Regions from separate parts of the Homo sapiens genome. Here region 1 is linked to region 2. Evidence: promoter capture Hi-C in human tissues and cell types (Jung and others, 2019). All regions are on one chromosome and are shown on one strand. The core of a region is centred on a gene start or on the middle of the fragment in contact, and the rest is flanking DNA. Distances in the headings are between cores, read along the strand shown. Region 1 overlaps UTP25 (UTP25 small subunit processome component). Region 2 holds the start of HHAT (hedgehog acyltransferase).

The links. The method cuts DNA at HindIII sites, captures the fragments that hold promoters and counts their contacts. A contact is called where the count stands out against the background at its distance.
Region 1: a contact is called between a fragment that was not itself captured here and the fragment with the promoter of HHAT in region 2, in 1 of the 25 tissues and cell types used here (dorsolateral prefrontal cortex).

Annotation. Positions count from the first base shown.
Region 1 is chr1:209,838,816-209,842,980 of GRCh38, forward strand. It overlaps UTP25 (UTP25 small subunit processome component), which reads left to right. Exons shown (of 12, transcript NM_014388.7): 7 at 94-313; 8 at 2,038-2,240; 9 at 3,450-3,632; 10 at 3,768-3,880. Among named protein-coding and RNA genes, the nearest start is that of UTP25, 13 kb to the left of the region's middle. RefSeq lists an enhancer at 989-1,283. The HindIII fragment of the contact is 3,091 bases long and covers 1,345-4,165 here.
Region 2 is chr1:210,325,885-210,330,563 of GRCh38, forward strand. HHAT (hedgehog acyltransferase) reads left to right here and starts at 3,018. Exons shown (of 12, transcript NM_018194.6): 1 at 3,018-3,220. RefSeq lists enhancers at 2,191-2,360, 3,235-3,594 and a silencer at 2,825-3,074. The HindIII fragment of the contact is 7,053 bases long and covers 793-4,679 here.

The DNA.
Region 1 (4,165 bases), core at 1,640-4,139, 490 kb before region 2:
TGGAGCTTTTTAGCTCCACTTCCTCAGCAGTTTCACCTCAAGATCCTGTTCCTTCCTCTTACCCCACTAAGGCTGCTGTTGCTGTCTGCACAGGTACTGATAGTGGTGCCATTCCGGGAAGCTGCTTTGCGGGTGGTGCAGCTCTTCATCAGCCTCCTCGAGGGTGACAGCAAGAAGAAAATCATTGTGAGCAACAAAAAGAGGTTTCAGGGAGAATATGGATCAGATCCCGAGGAGAGACCACCCAACTTGAAGAGGCCTGAGGATTATGAAGCCGTATTTGTGGGCAATATTGATGACCACTTCAGGATTGGTAATTCTTCCTTATCAACTTTGAGACCTAAAGTGTGAAGGTCTACATAGCTGGAGACCAGAAGCTGGAATTAGATATTTTCCCAGTGGATCACTCACTGTGCCTCTTTAACAGAACCAGTGTGCCTTTGAGACATGTTGTTTGCCATGGGAGAGTCTTGCCTTGGCTAATGGGGTGGACATTAGGCCAGTGGAGTCGGGAGGATCTCTGAGGCCATATATGAAAGGCACATGTACATTTATAACAGAAATTTATAGCAAGTTTATAACAGAAGTGTGAAAGCACACCCATAGCTGGTAGCAGATAGATGCTACAAGGGGTTCTCTAGGATGTTGGAAGTGATGGGGCTGATGGGGTCATTCTGGGGAGGCTGAATAAAATGACTGTCTCTACATAAAGGTGGACTTTCTCCTGTGTGCTACATAGATGCCTACCCTGAATAATCTCCACACATGACTTCCACCCAAATTTTCACATTTTTGCTTGTCTCTCATTCAGCTCCCATTGACTTTGGTTGGTTATACCTTTTATAGAGTAAAGTTCTTGGGGAAATGTTCATTAGTCACATATGCTCATTCACAAATACTTATTGAGTATCTACAGTGTGCCAGGCACTGTTAAGAAGCTGGGAATCTACAGATAAATATAGAAATAAAAGTTATAGTTCCCATTGCTAAGGAAATCCAGCCTACGACAGAGCAGGCAGTGCAGGATATGTGTGCAACGGTTGTTCTCGGAGCATTTAAAGCAAACCCCCTTACCCAAAATGGGGGCAGGGTGGTTAGGGAAGATGTCGTGGTGGAGGTGTCATCTGTACTAGGTGGAAACCTGTGTAGGATTCAGCCAGTTTCAAAGGGAGGTGGCTGAGTGGAGGAAAACATTTCAGACAGGAAACTGCCTGTTGCAGAGGCATCAGGGTGACTAAGCTTGGAATGACCTATGATTCACACAGGCTTCGGTATGGTGGAATGTAAGGCATAAGGAGACAAGAGCTCGTGTTTTGTTTGGAACATATATAGCTGTCCAGGAAGCAGTTGGTATATTGTTCTGGAGCTCAGGAAAAAGATATGGGCTGGAAATACACATTTGTGTGAAGGTGACATTAAAGCCATGATCAGTGAGTCAGTTAACCCAAAGCTTTATGCAGCACGAGAGCAGAGCTGACAAGTGAATCCACCAGTTTGCAGAAGAGTTATTTGGATCTGGAAGGACAGACAAGGGCCAGGTCAGTGATAGAAGCAAAAGTGAGAGTTGAAGTCATGGAAACTATTAGCAAGGAAAAGAGCATTGCAAGGCAGCTGTTAGTACATTCTGTGCCGTTTGTACTTTCCTCATAAGAAGCTCTCAAAAGTGTTCATCCTGTTGGTGACTGAGGACTGTGGGGACCTTAGCAAGAGTCATTTCTCTGGAGTCCTGAGAATCAGAGGCCGGATTGCAGTGGAGTGAGAAGTGAAGGAGAGATTTGAAAGTAGAGAGAATTCTCTGGAGCAGTTTGATAGTGACGGAAAGGAAGAGAAGGTAGAAGCTAGAAGGGACTATAGATGCAAGGGAGAGATTTCTCTTGTTCTTATGTTTTAATAATTAAAGCAGTTGAGCACAGTTACATGCTAAGAGGAACAAAAGAGATGTGGAAGCAATAGAAGTGGTGGACTGCTTTGAGAGGGTGGAAGGTAATGGCTTGGTAGTGACTAATGAATTGGTGTGTACTTGGCTGTTTTGTGTAGGAGTGGCAATACTTCAGAGAAGCATCCGACTCTATGCCCCGTTTTACTCCTCGGATATCCTCATTGCTTCCCCCCTGGGCTTGAGGACCATCATTGGTGGAGAAGGAGAGAAGAAGAGAGATTTTGACTTTCTGTCTTCTATCGAGCTTCTCATCATTGATCAAGCTGACATTTACCTGATGCAGAACTGGGAGCATGTCCTGGTAATGCTGGCCATTCACATTCAGTGGGACAGTATTCATATTTAGAGGGATAAGACACCCAGTGGTTTAAGTCCTAAAGAATTATTTAAGTCCAGATTAGAACTCTTGTTTGGAAGCAAGGACACACACTCCACATTTTCTAATTTGAAAAAGTCTTTTGTCCCCTTTTCTACCCAGAGATTGTCCATAATTAAACTGTCTACAGATTAAAATTCCTGTCAGTCATTTTCAAATCTCCAGAAAAGATTTCTTTCCCTTAAAATTTCTTTCTACTAACTTTAGGGTGGGTGGATGGGTGGATGGGATAGGTTGATGGATGGATGGGTCCTCACCAGGAACATCTTTACCTAACATAATCCCACATGTGGTTTTTGCTTATGCTGTTTTGTTTGGTCTTTGGTGAAGATGGGAATACCCTGCTCAAGATTTTTTAAGGTGGGATCTTGTTTTGTAGAGAAATATAGGATGTCTTTATTACCCGATGTAATTTGTACTGTAATTTTTTTCTCCTTCTCCACACACTCTGCAGTGTTATCAGTTTTAGGACTGAAAAACTGCTTTGGAACAATCCTTATTTAGGAACTATAGGTTTATTTTTCTAAGGCATATGGGAACTCACCCCTTCTACAACCCCATGTCTTGAAGCTTGCAGGAAGTTTGGGACAAATGAAGGGTAGAACTTACTTCTAAAGTAGGAAATAAATTTATTGTACTCATTACCCTTCAATATCTATTACAAGGTAAAAATATAATTAAAATGGAAAAGGCATTTGGCATAGTCGAGTTATATTCTTAGATTTGAGGAAAAGACAGGGTGACACTGCAACTATTCCTAATGTTTTGAGAACCAGGTAATTGAGGGACAGCAGCTCTGTTTTCCATGGCATTTCCCTTCTTGTCCAAGTCTGGGACTTAGGGACCCATAGAGAGACCAGTGTGGCATTTCAGAAGTTCATTTTAAAGGAACATTCCTGTAGGTACCATTTTGATCATTTGTTAAAATTCCAGGAGGGCCAGTTTTAGCTTATCTCCTCATTGGGGATGTTTGGCTGACCATGGGCAAGTCACTCACCCATGTGAGCCTCAGTTTTCTTGTTATAATTTAGGAGATGATAGTACATGAGTTGATAGACTCGGAAAATGTTTAGCAATGTCCAACATGTAAATGCTCTCAGTCAACACTAATGGTAATATTATTTCCACTCAAAGCATTTGATGAATCACATGAACCTACTACCCCTGGACTCACATGGGGTAGACTTTTCTCGAGTGCGGATGTGGAGCCTCAATAATTGGTCCAAGTACTATCGCCAGACACTGCTATTTGGGGCCCTTCAGGATGCCCAGATCAACTCAGTGTTCAACAAGTACTGTGTCAACATGCAAGGCCAGGTGGGTTCTCGTCTTGTTTCCTCAGTATCTTCATGAGCACTGTTTATTGTTTGGGTCCTGAGGTAGAAGGAGGCGATAGCTTCTGGTCAAGAAGGGGATGGCTGTCCACCTAACGCTCTTGTTGACTACTGGCAGGTGGCCGTGAGGAATGTCCCAATGACAGGCTCTATCAGTCATGTCCTGGTGCAGCTCCCACATGTCTTCCAGAGGATGGAAGCTGAAAACCTAGCTTCAGTGATTGATGCCAGGTAACCCACTCCTCCCAGCAGGCCCCTGGGGACCACATAGAGAGATTTGACTTGGGCATACAAACCTAGAATTGGATTCCATTTTGCTTTTATTGATAACTACCAAATCAGTTGAGATAATTGAACTTAATTATGTCATTTGTCAGAGGAGGAAACTGAAGCACAGAGAGAAATAGTGACTTTGGCCTAGGTCTCATAACTAGTTAGTAGCAGGGTTATTACTATAAATCAGGACTCTTTCACTCTTGACTGTGGCATTTTAAAATTATACAGCTTTATGCTACA
Region 2 (4,679 bases), core at 1,768-4,267:
TGTTGATAGTTGTTCATTTTGTTGTTCTTGAAGGGAGGACAATTGGTGGAAGCTTCTATTTGGCATCTTGCCCCACCTCCCTTAGATTTTGATAAATTTTAAGTTTTCATACTGCCAAATTGCTTACCCAACTAAACATTGTGTGTGAGTGCTATCACATAGCACCCATGCCAGGCTGTAATGTTATTTATTAATTTTTTGCCAACTTAATGTGTGAAAATTGTGTGTTCTTGTTTTTTTTTTTTTTTTTTTTTTTTTTGAGACGGGGTCTTGCTCAGTCACCCAGGCTGGAGTGCAGTGGCACGATCTCGGCTCACTGCAACCTCTGCCTCCCGGGTTCACGCCATTCTCCTGCCTCAGCCTCCCGAGTAGCTGGGACTACAGACACCCGCCACGATGCCTGGCTAATTTTGTTTTTGTATTTTTAGTAGAGACGGGGTTTCACCACGTTAGCCAGGATGGTCTTGATCTCCTGACTTCGTGATCCACCCACCTTGGCCTCCCAAAGTGCTGGGATTACAGGCGTGAGCCACCATGTTCTTGTTTTACTATGCATTTCATTGAGCTTTTTGCAATATATTTTTGTTTCCTACTTTTATTTCCCTCCTCCTTTTTCTAGTGGGTTGTCTATAAATGTGTCTTGCTCATCTATAATTGATTTCTAATGTTTTCTTATTGATTGTATTAACTCTATATATAATTTTAAAATTAACACTTTGCAAATTTCTTGCAAATATCCCAGTCTATTGCTTATCTTTAAATTTTGGCTATTATGGCCAAGCATGGTGGCTCACACCTGTAATCCCAGCACTTTGGGAGGCTGAGGCAGGTGCATCACTTGAGGCCAGGAGTTCGAGACCAGCCTGGCCAACAAGGCAAAACCCTGTCTCTACTAAATAGCCAGGTGTGGTGGCTGGTGCTTGCCTGTAATCCCAGCCACTCAGGTGGCTAAGGCACAAGAATTGCTTGAATCTGCAGTGAGCTGAGATCATGCCACTGTGCTTAGCCTGGGTGACACAGTGAGACTGTCTCTAATACATACATATATATATATATATATATATATATATATATACACACACACATAAATTTTGGCTATTTTTATTTGATGTTTCTGATTGCCTGTGTTTAAATCTGCCTTTATCTCCTTTGTGTTCGCCGGTGAATTTAAAGTGCATATGTAGACAGGGGTTAAGTGTAAATCACACTGAACCTATATTAACAACAGCATCTTTTAGAAATAATATAGGAGCTGTTATCACATCCCTGTCCCTGAGTTTGACACTACCTGAGTTGAGTTCTTATTCTGCCACTCCCTCTGCCAAACCCTTGGATCTAGAGTTGACAGATAAAATACCCAGTTAAGTTTGATTTTCAGATACCCAGGATGTAAATTTGAATTTCAGATATACCATTTTTTTTTTTTTTTTTTGGTAGAGATGGAGTTTCATCATGTTGGCCAGGCTGGTCTCGAACTCCTGGATTCAAGTTATCTACTCACCTCGACCTCCCAAAGTGCTGGGATTACAAGCTTCCTGTAAGTACTTAAAAAAAATAAGTATATCCCAAATATTGCATGGGTCATAGTGATACTAAAAAGTTACATATTGTTCACCTGAAATTATTTACTTATTTTTTTGAGACAGAGTCCGGCTCAGTCACCCAGGTTGGAGTGCAGTGGTGCGATCTGAGCTCACTGCAACCTCTGCCGCCCGGGTTCAAGCGATTCTCGTGCCTCAGCCTCCCAAGTGGCTGGGATTACAGGTGCAGGCCACCACACCCGGCTAATTTTTGTATTTTTAGTAGAGACGGGGTCTCACCATGTTGGCCAGGCTGGTCTCAAACTCCTGGCCTCAAGTGATCCTCCTGCTACCGCTCCTAAAGTGCTGAGATTACAGGCGTGGGCCACCGCGCCCAGCCTGAAATTCAATTTTAATTGAGTATGCTGTATTTTTATTTGCTAAATCTGGCACTCCTATTTGGGGCTAGTTTACTAACACCTGCTTACTGAACACCATCCAGTACCAGGTTTTGGGGTGAGTGGGTTGGGGGGAAGCAGAAAGAAAAGATAGCTCCAGCTCTTGGAGAGTTCATACTCTGGTTTCCTGGAGAATTCTAAAATCATTAAAATAATCCTCTCGACCATTACAATGACTGCTAGATGAAATTTCTGAGAGCACAGCTTCCGAGTTTCCCTGCTGCCTAGGGCAGAGTTATCCACCTTCACCTTATCATAGAACCACCTGAGACGCCCCTGCCATGGACAGTCTGATGCTTTTGGTTTGGGGAGGGATCCAGAAGCCCGAGGTTTTAATGAGAGCCACGTGATTCTGCTGAGATAAGTCTGGAGAACTCTGGCAAGCCTGTCTCTTGGCTCAGGCTTGGAGGCCTCCGAGCAGCAACATCGTCCCAATTATACCCCGTTGGAGCATCTTCAGATCTTCCACTCTTTTCACAACGCAATCAAAATCTTCGTACCCATTTTGCAGTAGTGATCTCTGTAAGTTGCTTTACAATTCATAAAGTTTATTCTATTTGATCTTCACTCTAATTTACAAAGAAAAGCAGGGAAGTCTATTTCTGTTTTACAGAGGTGTACAGGGAGGCTCACAGGGGCTAAGTTCACACAGTAAGCCCTCGAAGCTGCCAGGGCTGCAAAGCCCACCCTCTTTCCACCGCACCGAACTACCTCCTTTCGCCTACAAAACGTAGGTGGGGACCACTGGTGTTGGAATGACGGCCCACCTCGAGTTTCAGGTGACTTCCACTCTGCAATTAACTTGCAGGCAGCCCCAGACCTGCAATGAACACACGGGTGGGGGAGAGATATGCACGCCAGGGTCAGTGGGAACCAACAGCCGAGGGGTGAGCGGGGCTAGGGGCCCCGGGCCGCCGGCGGGGCAAACGCGGTTCAGAAACGCAGGCCGCGCTCTGGCCCGCCCCCTGCAGCAGCACGGCCTGCTCGCCATCGCCCGGAGAGCGCCGCGGGTTCCCGAGTCCGGGCGCGGAGGGCGCGCGGGCACGGCGGCAGGGGCGTGCTCGGAGGACGCGCGCTGCGCTGCTCCTCCAAAGGGCAGCTCCGGGGGAAAGAGGGTGGCGTCCCGGGGAAGCCCGCAGCCGCCGCCGATGTCGCTGGGACTCGGAAGTGCCGAAAGAGGGGTGTTGGGAACTCGCGGCGCGCGTGAACGTTGCCGTCGCCGCCGCCCGGGACAGCCCGGAGGTTGGTAACTGGTGACCATAGGGGGTCCTGGGGAGGTTAGATGCTGAATTTTCTGCGTCAGTTTACTCTGTTAAAAAAAAAATGCACAAAACGCTTTCCGTTTCCTACCCAAGTTCCCGTGTGCGCGCCCGAGGGCGGGACAGAGGAAGTTCCCGGTCGGGCGAAGAAGACAAAAGCGGCGGGGGCCGCGCGCGCAGTGCGCCCGGGCAAAGGCGGGGATCTAGGCGCCGGGACAAGTCCGCGCACGGCCCTGCCCACGTCCTCTCTCCTTGGCTTCGTCCCCAGCTTCCGGAACTGCTGCGGGGAGTTGCGAACTCTGGTCCTCTTGGCAGTATCGGCGGTGCGCCTGCCTGCCTGCTGTGACTCCAGGGACTCTAAAGTTAGAGACTTCCTTTGCGTTCTATCTTCAGGACTCAGTTTTCTTCCTCTGTTCTGAGTCTAACCTTCAGGTGGCAGGTCTTTATGCGGAAAAACCCTCCCGCTAATCCTCACCAGAGGTACTTTACGGGTAGCATTGGTGTTAAGAAATGTGCTGCTACCTGTGTACATTGCTCTTGGATCAGGGTTGTAGGGCTAGGGCATTTGGCATCCTCAGAGGTTTGCATTACGTGGGAGTGAGACATTGCTTCTCTTTCTGTTTTTGTTGTTGTTTGTGTTTTTGAGGCGGAGTTTCGCTCTGGTCGCCCAGGCTGGAGTGCAATGGCACAATCTCAGCTCACTGCAACCTCAGCATCCCGGTTTCAAGCGATTCTCCAGCCTTGCCTCCTGAGTAGCTGGGATTACAGGCATGCGCCACCACGCCCACCTAATTTTGTATTTTTAGTAGAGACGAGGGTCTCACCGTGTTGGCCAGGCTGGTCTCGAATTCCTGACCTCGGGTGATCTGCCCACCTCGACCTCCCAAAGTGCTGGGATTACAGGCGTGAGCCACCGTGCCTGGCATCTCATTCATTCTCAGAGCTAAGGACCTATTTCAATGTGATTAAGTGCTATGGGAATGCAAGGAGAGGAGAGGGAAGGCTTCATTGAAGAGGCGGTAGTTCATTGAAGGAGACTTTGAGGAATGATTTTTTTCCCCTTCCATTCCTCATGTTCCATTTTCCCTGTGATTTTTCTCCCTCCTTTCTCGTTGCCAGTCAGTCCCTAATTGTGATTGTTTGATAAGGACAGCTCTGACCTGAGAGATTCAATTAATGTTAATTTAAGGAGACTGTGTGCTTATTAGGTGCTTTAGATACATTATTTCTAAACCTTACAGTAACTGGGAAAGATAAGTGTTGTTATCTCTTTTCACAGTAGGATAGAGAAAGCCTTGGAGGGGAGCCAAAGCCACAAACTAGTACATGTCAGGGCCGGGTTTTGGACTCCTCTTTTGGATCAACGCCTGTGCTTTATCTACTGTTTACTTTGCCCCCTCCTTGGAAGTAGGTTAGATGGATGAACTTAGGGTGAAAGTCAA